Linked DNA regions of Homo sapiens: all the other regions are linked to region 1. The links are contacts of gene promoters, found by promoter capture Hi-C in human tissues and cell types (Jung and others, 2019). All regions are on one chromosome and are shown on one strand. Each heading gives the region's core, a stretch centred on a gene start or on the middle of the fragment in contact. The rest is flanking DNA. Distances are from core to core; before and after follow the strand shown. Region 1 holds the start of CDRT15L2 (CMT1A duplicated region transcript 15 like 2). Region 2 has its middle 33 kb from the start of CDRT15L2. Region 3 overlaps LINC02088 (long intergenic non-protein coding RNA 2088).

Region 1 (3,708 bases), core at 380-2,879:
TTGCCCCATGCTCTTCTCATGATAGTAAGTGAGTTTTCATGAGGTCTGATGGATTCATAAGTGGCAGTTTCCCCTGCTCTCCCCTCTCTCCTGCTGCCTTGTGAAGAAATTGCCTGCTTCCCCTTTGCCTTCCATCATGATTGTAAGTTTCCTGAGGCCTTCGCAGCCATGCAGAACTGTGAGCCAATTAAACCTCTTTTGCTTATATATCACCCAGTCTCAGGTATTCTTTAGAGCAGTGTGAAAATGAACTAGTATACGTGAATTCAAATGATAATACTTAAGAGACTCATGTCCAAAAGATAACAGGAGCAGTTTTAGAACAAAACTATAATGAAGGATCTAAAGTGCTGTACTGGGTTCTCTTGACTTACCCAGTGTGCAATGTTATGACCTTGGGCAGGCCCCTTTACACTGTGCAACGTGGGATTCAAATGCGATGGTGGATGGAACCTTGTCCTGAACCTAATTCCATGGGAAGCATTTAACATTTCATCATGACATATGTTTGTTGTAGGCATTTGGTACATACCTTTTATTACCTCATGGAAGTATTCTGCTAAGAGGGGTCTGGTTTGTTTGTGGTTTTTGGTTTGTTTGCTTGCTTGTTTTTTAGAGAGACAGGGTCTCATTCTGTCACCTCAGCTGGAATTCAGTGTTGTGATCCTCACCCACTGCAGCCTTCAACTCCTGAGTTCAAGCGATCCTCCCACCTCAGCCTCCTGAGTAGCTGGGACTGCAGGCACATGCCACCATGCCTGTTAAATTTTTTGATTTTTTTTTTTCAGAATGGGGGTCTCACTCCATTGCCCAAGCTGGTCTCAAACTGTTAGCCTCTAGTGATCCTCCCACCTTGGGCTCCCAAAGAGCTGGGATTACAGGTGTGAGCCACTGTACCCAGGCAAAAGATAACTTTGGAACACCACCTGAGAATGTTACTTACAATGAATCCTGTCCTCATTCTCATTTACTTATTTGGATGGAGTTTCCTGAAATTTGTCTCACTATCATCTAGGATCCTTTTTCTTTCTCCAACTGGGAGATTGTGTCTGGTTTGGAAACTGCAAGCCCTGTTCAGGAAAAGGGAAAAGACCCAAGGCACACACCCAGTCCCCAGGTGATCATCAGGCCCAGGTGAAAACTCAGGCCTTAGGTGCACCTCCGGCCTCAGGTGGACACCCAGGCCCCAGGTGATCACCAGTCCCCAGGTGGACACAAGGCCTTAGGTGAACAACAAGACCCAGTAGGCCATCAGGCCCCAGCTGGATACAGTCCCCAGGTGAACACAAGGCCCCAAGAGGGACATAGGCCAAGGCAGACATCAGGCCCCAGGTGGACATCAGGCCTGAGGACGACATCTGGCCCCTGGTGAACATCAGGCACAGGTGTCCAAGCAGAGCCTGGGTGGACATAACTGTGTACGGGTCAGGAGATGACCTGAGGGGAGGGTGAGTAGTCAGTAACCCAGTGGAGTCCTGAGTAGGCTTATGGAAGGAAGGGGCCTAGGGGACAGAACCGTAAAGAAGCGACCTCACTTCCTCGATGATGACACACACGAAGAGAACTTAGAACTCTGGTAACCAGGCACCCATATCCTAGAGTCAGCGCCGTAACCAGCTCACTTTGTGGGAGACGCTCAAGAGAGCAAGATGTTCTCCTGTTGCTTCCCCACTTCGAGAGGTTGCTGCTTCAGGAATGGAGGGAGTGAGAGCCTTTTCCGACAATGCCGAAGAAGGCTCATCCCTCACCCCAGACGCCTGTGGCCCTTTGTAAGAAGGCGCACCCAGGTACCACAGGACAGCCCGGGGCAGGCCCTAGCTGGCCAGGCCACACCAGAGATCCCATCGGGGCTGCCTCTGCACATTGTCCTTGTCCAGGAGGAGATTCGGGAGCCCATGGAGGCACAGACACATGGTGAGGTGGCTGCAGCCTGGAAGACTTTGCGGGGGCGGTGCTTTTGGGCTGGAATGCCTTTGAATTCAGTGAGGTTGTCTCTGTGTTTGGAAATTCCAGTGGAAAGTGACTGATGCTGGTGACCCTTTCTCCTTTTTCAGCTCCTGGTCCGTACGCAGACATAGCAGCACTTGCGGCACCGGCTGTCGAGCCAAAGCCAGCATGGGAAGAGCCCCCTCCAGAGAGAGCGCTGGAGGTGGAGGGAGCTCCAGCCAAGGACCAGCCCAGCCAGGAGCTGCCTGAAATCATGGCACCTACTGTAGCCACTGGCCTTAATGCTGGAGCTGAAAACGTGGCTGGAGAGAGAAGTGGGAGGGAGGGGGTGACAAGCACAGCCCCAGCCAGCAGATCCCATGCTGCCCCTAGTCCTGGGCATGGTGGCAAACATGGAGGCGGAGACCAGGGCATTCAGACTGGACTCCTGTACCTCGCTGGAGAGAGGCTTCTCTCATTCGCCGGAACCACAGCCCTGCTGCTGCAGGGCCTGTTTATTGTGCTAATTCTGGTGGGGTATATCTCTGTGAAGGTGATGCTCAAGAGCATTAAAACAAGGCTGGGAAGAAGAGTTCCAGCAGCTCCTCCTGCTCTCAGACGCAATCTTCTCCTCCAGGCATGGAAGTGTGTCTGCAACTGGGCATCCAGGCTGTTTGCCCCTAATGTGCTGCCCCGAACGGGCTCTTAACAGGTGGGCAGGGGTTGAGGGGACCAGGAGGTGGCTCCAAAGGGTACAGCAAGGAAAGCTTTTAAAGACAGCTGTTGTGCTCCAGGCTCTCCATGCCACCACCTGCCCTAGCATTTATTAATAGTGTTAGAATTACAAGTTTATGAAATGAAATATAAATAAAGTTTGATTTCTGAAACTTCTCACCTTTTTGAACTCCCTAATGTTAGATGGTGTTTTTGAGGCTATCCTGAAAATCTCGGATAGTTGTGTCTTTTGTTGTGGTTGTTTGTGTGGCTGAATTACCATCGAGTCATCTGTTATTGGAAACCTTTCAGGTATGGCTTTTAGAAGACCTTGACCCACTCTTGCCTGTTTTGACTCTCTGGTTTATTGTGGAAAGAGGGATGATGTAGGCTCATGTCTCCGGCAGATCAATCACCTTTTGCCATCAAGGATTTGGCATCAGAGTTTCCAAGAATTATGTGTGCAAATTGACATGCTGGTACTTTAGCTAATCTGGGTGTCAAAACAGAATGCCATAGACTAGGTAGCATAGAAAATTGATTTCTCACAGTTCTGGAGATGGTAAAATCCGAGGTCAAATGGTCAGCAGATTCCGTGTCTGCAGAGGGCTGGCTTCCTGGTTCATAGACAGCCATCTTTTTACTGTGTCTTTACATGACAGAAGGGGTGAGGGAGCTCTCTGCAGTCCCTTTGATAGGGACACCAATTCCATTCATGAGGTCCCTGCCTTCATGAACCGAATCACCTTCCAAGGCCCCACCCCCAAATACCATCACATAGAATCCAACGCATGAATTTGAGGAGGACAATAACATTTGCTTTATAGAATCAGGTCACCCCGAGCCATATGCACTCACAGGAAATCTATAATCTTCTATTAAGTATTTGCTGGTCCCCTCTGGGGATTGTCTAAACAAAATTGTCTAAACAAAAATTTAGACAATTTTTGTTTTCTTTAAGAAAAATGCTCTTTCATGTGATCCATGGTTTATTCATAGAAAGCACTGTGAGTTCACACACTTGCTAAAAAGAAGGACAATTGCGATACAAAAATGAGAGTGACCTCC
Region 2 (3,506 bases), core at 133-2,632, 33 kb before region 1:
TTGGTCTTGGAGCCCCTGGACTGTCCCGCCATTTGGGCTGTGGAATCCTGAGAAGCCCCCAGCCCATCATGAAATCAGAGCCTTCCCCCAAGATGTGGAGCCATCAGCTGCAAGAGCTGGGCAGCTGCAGAGGCCCCCAAACCCGAAGGCCTCCCACCCTCCCATCTGGTGACCCCACCATGCGGCCTTTGCCCTGGGGAGGTGGGACAAGAACATCCCCTGGAGCCTGGCTGGAGGTTCCCCTGGAGGCCTCCTGGGCTAGGGTGCAAAAAGGGCAAGCCTGACTTTGAGGTCACAACAGAGCAGCCAGAACACGGTGGGTGCTGGGCTTCCTGGTCATCTTGTGGAAGTGGGGTTGGGCCAGGGGACACGGGATGGGGAGATGCTGCCACCTGGGCTTGGTTAGCCCATTCGTGGGCACCAAGGGCAGCAGGAGCCTGGGCAGCTGGAGGGCAGGAGGACTCTCAGGGAGGGGAGAGTCAGCTGCACAGAGTCAGAGCCGGAGGGCGTGGCTCCAGGACACAGAGGGTGGCCACGGGGAGGATGAGATGCCCTCTGCTGATGGGGATGAAAGGCATTTGACTTGGGCTGTGGGGGTCAGCTGCGGACTCCTGTGGGACCCTCAGCAGAGACGTCCTAAAGGCTCCCAACAAGCTGGCGACACAAGGATGGTGCCTTGGCTGAAAGCCGAGATCACCTGGCCACGGTGGCTGTCCCCAGATCTGGCTGCATGAGGCCCCACGGGCAGCTGTTCACCTACCCGGCAGGGAGTGCCTCTCACTGGCCAGCAGCTGCACCAGTGCCCAGAATGCATCTTCCTCAGGCAGATAAAGGAGAAACAAGGTGGCAATGTGGCTCAGGTCCCTGCAGTAGCCCACCTCCTGCAAGAGCCAGAATCGCCATGGAAGGACATCACCTGGGAGGGCCGAGGTCACCTGGGAGGACTCATGTCATTGGAGAGGGCAGAGGTGACTGGGGAGGCTTCCTCTGAAGAGGCTTCCTCAGGATGCAAATTCATTTCATGACAAGAGCCAAGTCCATCAGGCACTTCAGCACCTTGTCCAAATTGTCTCCTGAGAGCACCGTCCTGCATGTGACACTGCCAAGCTCCCAGGCTTTGGGGCAGCCCCAGGAGGAGGGTGTCATTTCTTGTTCTGAGAAGTGCCCAGGTGACAGGCCCAGGTGACACCAGGAGTCCAGGCCCCAAGTCCTTTGTGTCTCAGCTTGACCCCTTGAGACCACCCCCTTGCTTGGAGGTTTATGCCAGCAGTGACCTGGAATCCTACCTCCTATATCCTGGTGGGTCACAAATACTAACTTTAAAAGAAGCAACGACACCCCCATCAGACACCCACTCCTGTGAATATGGAAATATGGCCCAGGAACCTCACTGCCGGGAATACTCACCGGGTTATACTCTGAATATGCCACAAGGATGTAGAATAGTTCCCGCTGCCTAGGAAACAGAGAAAGGGGGCTAGGGTTTGGTTTGTGCAGATGCTGTTAGTTTCACTTTGTCTACAAATCCTAAAAACAAATCCCATTTCAGGTTCAGATGATTCACCAGATAAGCAGTGAACTTTCAGGGCCTGAGATTATTGAAGAAATGTTTCAGTAAAATCCACATCTGTGACATGCAAATAGCCCAGTTGTACAGGGAGTTGACCGATCCTTTTCACTCTGAATGATTTTTTTTTTTTTTCAGTTTGCACACACGCCAGTTCAGTCTTTGGGTGTACAGTTCCTCCACGGTTCCAAACCAGTGTGCAGAGTCTCCCGGCCACCACTCCAGCCCCTCCTGGAGTGACTCCTGATCTTTCAAATCTCCAGGGTTTCCCCTATGCACCCAGCCTCTCCCCGATCCGTCAGCCCCTGGCCACCCAGACTGCTTCTCAGTCCCTATGGTTTGGTCTTTTCCAGAATGGCCTAGGAATGGGAATCCTACTGTGGTAGCTTATTGGGTCTGGCTTCTTTCCCTTAGCAAAATGCATCTAGGATCCACCCACATTCCTGCGGGCATCACTGGCTCATTCCCTTTTCTCACTGGGTCTTCTGTTTGAAAGGAGGACCAGACTGTCTCTCCCCATTCCCGTGTTGAAGGCCATCCCCGAAGGCTTCGTGTGTGACTGATGAGGAATCAAGCAGTGAACGTGGCATGCAGGTTTCATGTGGATGTCAGTTTTCAAATCAGTGGGTTCAATATCTGTGACACCTTGGGGACGTGTGGTTCAAGTCCATTGAGCTTTGTGAGCCACTGCCCAACTGGCTGCCAACGTGGCTGTGCCATGTCATATTCCCAGCAGACCTGGATGAGAGTTTCCAGGACCCCTAATTCTCCCAGCATTTGGTGCTGTCAGTGTTGCCTGGGGAGGCTCATGGGCTCTCCATCCTGCCACCCTCCCGTGGGTCCTACCATGGGTCCCCGTGGGTCAGGGAGAGCACCTTTCACCATTATGCATGATTTTGTTTGCTGTCTTCTGTCTCCTCAGGATCCTCCTGGGTTCTGGCCCCACATGTTCCAGCCTGGCCCAGGGCTTGGAACCAGGGAGGTGCTTGGTTCATGGTGCCGGCTGCTCCCTGGGCTAGGAGAGCTCTTGGCAGCTCTGTCATCCCTCCTGGGTGATCCTGGCTTCTGCTCTGGGAAAGTCCCCATCCCTCTCATTCACCCCATCTCCTCTGGGACCCTGTGGCTCTCGTAGGCTTACTTCACTCCATATCGATCCCTGAAGAAGACATGGTTCTGGAGAGTCCTGCTCACGTCCAGTTTGATCTGGTGGATGTGTTCAGAAGACCTCTTGCCCTTCTCCTTCATGATCTGTAGGGCAGGGCCAAGAGGAGGAAGCAGCCTCAGAACAGATGGAAGACTCCCTGCCCCAAATGGCAGTCAGCCCACAGTCAGCGCTTTGGGAAGGAAGGAAAGAAGGAAGGTTTCCTTGTGCAGAAAGCTGCTTTTTGGCTTGTTACTGAAGCCAGGGAGGGTCACCAGAGCCGAGTTCATCTGTGGTGACTATGTCACCATCTGTGCCCAGGAAGTGCATCTGACCATCCCCCCCACCCCCCCAGGCTGGGCTTGACGTTCACTCCAGCTGGAGGCCTGGGCCCCTGACACAGCCTGTCCTGTTTGTTGTGCTCTGGCTGAGCATACCTAGTATTTTTTGGGGTGTTTTGACTTGATTTCCTGAATGTTCAGGAGGACTGACAACACCAGGCCCCGGATGTTCATGGGAATGCCCTTATAGATGCGATCTATGAGCTGTGGGCAGAAAACAATCTGGTGTCACAGGCCATGGGGTGACCCCAGTGAGGATCAGAGCCCAGGGATTCTGGAAATTTTTGGTTTTGGCCCCATGATTCCTCAGTAGAGGTGAGATCAAGCTGGGACAGGGTCTCCCTTCCCAGGACTGAAAGAGTGGATGGACACTCAGAGTTGAAACTGTGATCCGAACCTTTTTCTTCCTTCAGGTCACCAGGGCATCCCTAGCCTTGAGCTCCAGGTGGTCCCAGCC
Region 3 (3,677 bases), core at 143-2,642, 41 kb after region 1:
TTGAAATGGTTAAATCTCATTTAATCCCCACAATAATAATGACTGTTTTATAGATGAAGAAACTAGAGTTTACAGAAGGGAAATTACTCAAATCTACAGTTTATAACTGGTTTTTATTTTCACAGCCAGGTCTGTAGGACTTTAAAGCCCCAGCCTAGGCACTACTTTTGTCCTAAAGATGTGCATTTATTGTCTGTGATATGTAAGAGACCATAAATATTGGTCTCAATGCAAATTAATTTTCAAAGATCTATCAACAAAAGTAAGCTTGGTAAAAGATGATTTTAAACAGAACATTCAGTAAAGATTAAACAAGATGCACAATCCAATCAAAGAAAATGTGTTAAGTCCTCACAGGGGCATTTTCTACAGATTTACACATAGCTTTTCCATGTGAAAAGGAAACTATGTAATTCTTGTTTAGCTTCCTCCATCTAAAGTGACACAATGTACCAAATAGCTTAAATTAATGGTTAGATTTGGTTAATTATCAAGGCTTCCTCTTTGAAAATCATAAATTTATTTTACTTTTTTTTTTTTTTTTTGAGGCGGAGTTTTGCTCTTGTTGCCCAGGCTGGAGTGCAGTGGCGTGATCTCGGCTCACTGCAACCTCCGCCTTCTGGATTGAAGTGATTCTTCTGCCTCAGCCTTCCGAGTAGTGGGGATTACAGGCACCCACCACCACACCCAGCTAATTTTTGTATTTTTAGTAGAGACAGGGTTTTACCAGGTTGGCCAGGCTGGTCTCGAACTCCTGACCTCAGGTGATTCACCTGCCTCGGCCTCCCAAAGTGCTGGGATTACAGGTGTGAGCCACCGCACCTGTCCAAAAATCATAAATTTAACTTGGATATGGAATTAATTTGGCCCTTTCTTTATTTCAGTGAAAGACGTATAAAAAATTGCCCCCTTATCAACACAAAGGGTTTCTCCTGACCATTATTTCCAGGTATGCACAGTCTCCTAACTATGACAACAGAAATCATTCTGAACTCCTTCCATTTCCCAGGGAGAAAACAGAAGCACCTTGGGCAGAGTGAAAAAGAAACCACCTGGAGAGGAGGCCCTGCAACATGAACCCATCTTTAGGCCCAAGGGCATTCTGACATCTGAAATCAAAGTCATGATTGCCTCCATTTCTAGAAAATGTTCCAGAAATATTTCCAGGATATATAATTATTAAAGCACAGGCTTTGTTGTCTTTAGGCTTGGAAAGGTCTTTGAAAGTTATTTGGATTAAATCATTAGAAATTTACTAACACTGATATCAAGTTAATGGTTAAAAACAAAGCTTTGTCCACCCCCAGGCCCAGGAGAAATGTGCACATATGTTCACCAAGAGACGTGTACAAGTATTTTCACACCAATATTATGAGCCAAAAACTCAAAACAACCCAAATGTTCACCTAAAGTGGAATAAACACAGTATTGTGGCGTTCCTATAACGAACTACTACTACGCAACGAGCACAAATAAACTCTAACTCCCAATAATGTGACCGGATCTCACAAACATTGTATTGGAATACGGAGGCCAGACCCAAAAGAGGATGTTGTACATGGATGAAATTTATAGAAAATTCAAAAACAGGCAAAGCTGATACATGGTATTAGACAGGGCAATGATTATCCTTAGTGCAGAGGGAGACAGTGACTAGAATGATGCATGAGGGAGGTTCTGGGTTTCTGGGAATGTTCTGTTACTGTTCGTGTTAGGAGGAGGGGTGCAAAGGGTAGTGACGAGGCCCACCCTCTGGACCCTGCAGCATGAGAGAGAGTCTTGATCCTGATGGCAGAAACCATCCCCCGAGCCCAGGGCCACCCATAGGACAGACACCACGAAGCCACATTCTGAGGCCAGTCTCAGCCATTCTTGCTGCCCTCCAACCCTGTCCCAGCCAAAGATGAACCTCCAGGGGTGGGGAAGGATGGACAGACAGCATCCAATGCACTCTGAGAGCCTCTGCACCTGGGTGGATGAATCTTTGTGTCCAGGGCTGGCTGTCAGTAGATCCAGGCTTTCATTCCTAGAAGTGGTTAGTTTCCAAGATTTTCAGAAAATAATGTCTAATTATAAAATTTTAAAAATATATAGAAGAGTTTTTGGCCAGGCATGGTGGCTCATGCCTGTAATCCCAACACTTTGGGAGGCCGAGGTGAGTGCATCACCTGAGGTCAGGAGTTCAAGACCAGCCTGACCAACATGGAGAAACCCCGTCTCTGCTAAAAAATACAAAATTAGTTATGCGTGGTGGCACATGCCTGTAATCCCAGTTACTCAGGAGGCTGAGGCAGGAGAATCACTTGAACCTGGGAGGCGGAAGTTGCAGTGAGCCGAGATCATGCCATTGCACTCCACCCTGGGCAACAAGAGTGAAACTCTGTCTAAAAAAAAAAAAAAAAAATATATATATATATATATACACACACACACACACACACACACACACACATATATATATAGAGAGAGGAGTTTTATAATAGCAATACAAAATGAAACCATCATGTATTTCACAGATAAATTTAAAAACTGAATTAAAAAGTATATCAAATCCCATATTTTTTCAGTTTGCTGGCCTGAAATAAAGTAATAATGTGAGGTTTAAGTAATGTCAATTATTTTCACAACTATAATACCATTCAGTGTTTATCCTGTACTCTGTACTCTCTTTATAATTAAGGATCTATACAGACCATTACAAAACACTTGAGTGGGCTGAAACCATTAGGGTCCATTCTGGAACTATTGTTTTCAATTTGCTCTCCCAACTTGCATATTCTTATGTGTTCAGCATTTCTTATTAACCCTGTATTTTTGTCCACTCATTTTTCACTTCTTAAATTTCACTCTATCTTACTGATAATATTTCAGGCTTCTTCTGAGAAAACAAGAGGCTGGGCATGGGTGGCTTATGCCTGGAATCCCAGCACTTTGGGAGGCCAAGGCGAGCGGATCACTTGCATCCAGAAGTTCAAGACCAGCCCGGGCAACATGATGAAACCCCATCTCTACAAAAAATACAAAAAATTAGCTGGGCATGGTGGCACACTCCTGTAGTCCCAGCTACTCGGGTGGATCACTTGAGTGCAGAAGGTCAAGGCTGCAATGAGCCATAATCGCACCACTGCACTCCAGACTGGGTGCCAGAGTAAGACCTTGTCTCAAAAAAAAAAAAAAAAGAAAAAAAAAACTAAATTGGAAATTGCTCAGTTTACTCCCTTATAACTGCTATAGTATGGATGTTTTTATGCAACAAGAGAGCTAAGAAATCCTTCTAACAATTTCCTGAAGTAGATCACAAATATCTTACTACTCTACAAAATTTTTATTATTTCTTATACTTAATGATATCGTTATTGATATATCATTTCAAGGCAAGTAGTAACAGTTGTCACTGGAGAAGTTGTTTATATAAGAAGTGAAATAATCTGTTAAACCTCACTTTAAGTGTGCCAGTTTTGATGCTAGGACTAAGGCAATGTGTATCCAAGTGTAGATCTGTGCCAGTTATATCAGAATCAAGGATGCTTATTAAAAATGCAAACTCTCACATCTGTAATCCCAGCACTTTGGGAGGCCGAGGTGGGTGGATCACCTGAGGTCAGGAGTTCGAGACCAGCCTGAACATGGAGAAACCCTGTCTCTACTAAAAATACAAAATTGGCCGGGTGTGGTGG

Evidence for each region. The method cuts DNA at HindIII sites, captures the fragments that hold promoters and counts their contacts. A contact is called where the count stands out against the background at its distance.
Region 2: a contact is called between a fragment that was not itself captured here and the fragment with the promoter of CDRT15L2 in region 1, in 2 of the 25 tissues and cell types used here (spleen and stomach).
Region 3: a fragment that was not itself captured here is called in contact with the fragment with the promoter of CDRT15L2 in region 1 in 3 of the 25 tissues and cell types used here (H1 embryonic stem cells, dorsolateral prefrontal cortex and spleen).

Annotation. Positions count from the first base shown.
Region 1 is chr17:20,578,095-20,581,802 of GRCh38, forward strand. It overlaps CDRT15L2 (CMT1A duplicated region transcript 15 like 2), which reads left to right and starts at 1,630. Exons shown (of 2, transcript NM_001190790.2): 1 at 1,630-1,914; 2 at 2,055-2,817. The coding sequence starts at 1,650. The coding sequence ends at 2,635. LOC105371580 (a long non-coding RNA gene) reads right to left here and starts at 1,597. Exons shown (of 4, transcript XR_934315.4): 1 at 944-1,597; 2 at 533-758. RefSeq lists an enhancer at 793-1,791. The HindIII fragment of the contact is 15,974 bases long and covers 1-3,448 here.
Region 2 is chr17:20,545,063-20,548,568 of GRCh38, forward strand. It overlaps the pseudogene TBC1D3P3. Among named protein-coding and RNA genes, the nearest start is that of CDRT15L2, 33 kb to the right of the region's middle. The HindIII fragment of the contact is 9,690 bases long and covers 1-3,506 here.
Region 3 is chr17:20,619,781-20,623,457 of GRCh38, forward strand. All of the region lies in intron 2 of LINC02088 (long intergenic non-protein coding RNA 2088), which reads right to left. Among named protein-coding and RNA genes, the nearest start is that of LINC02088, 12 kb to the right of the region's middle. The HindIII fragment of the contact is 3,404 bases long and covers 1-3,094 here.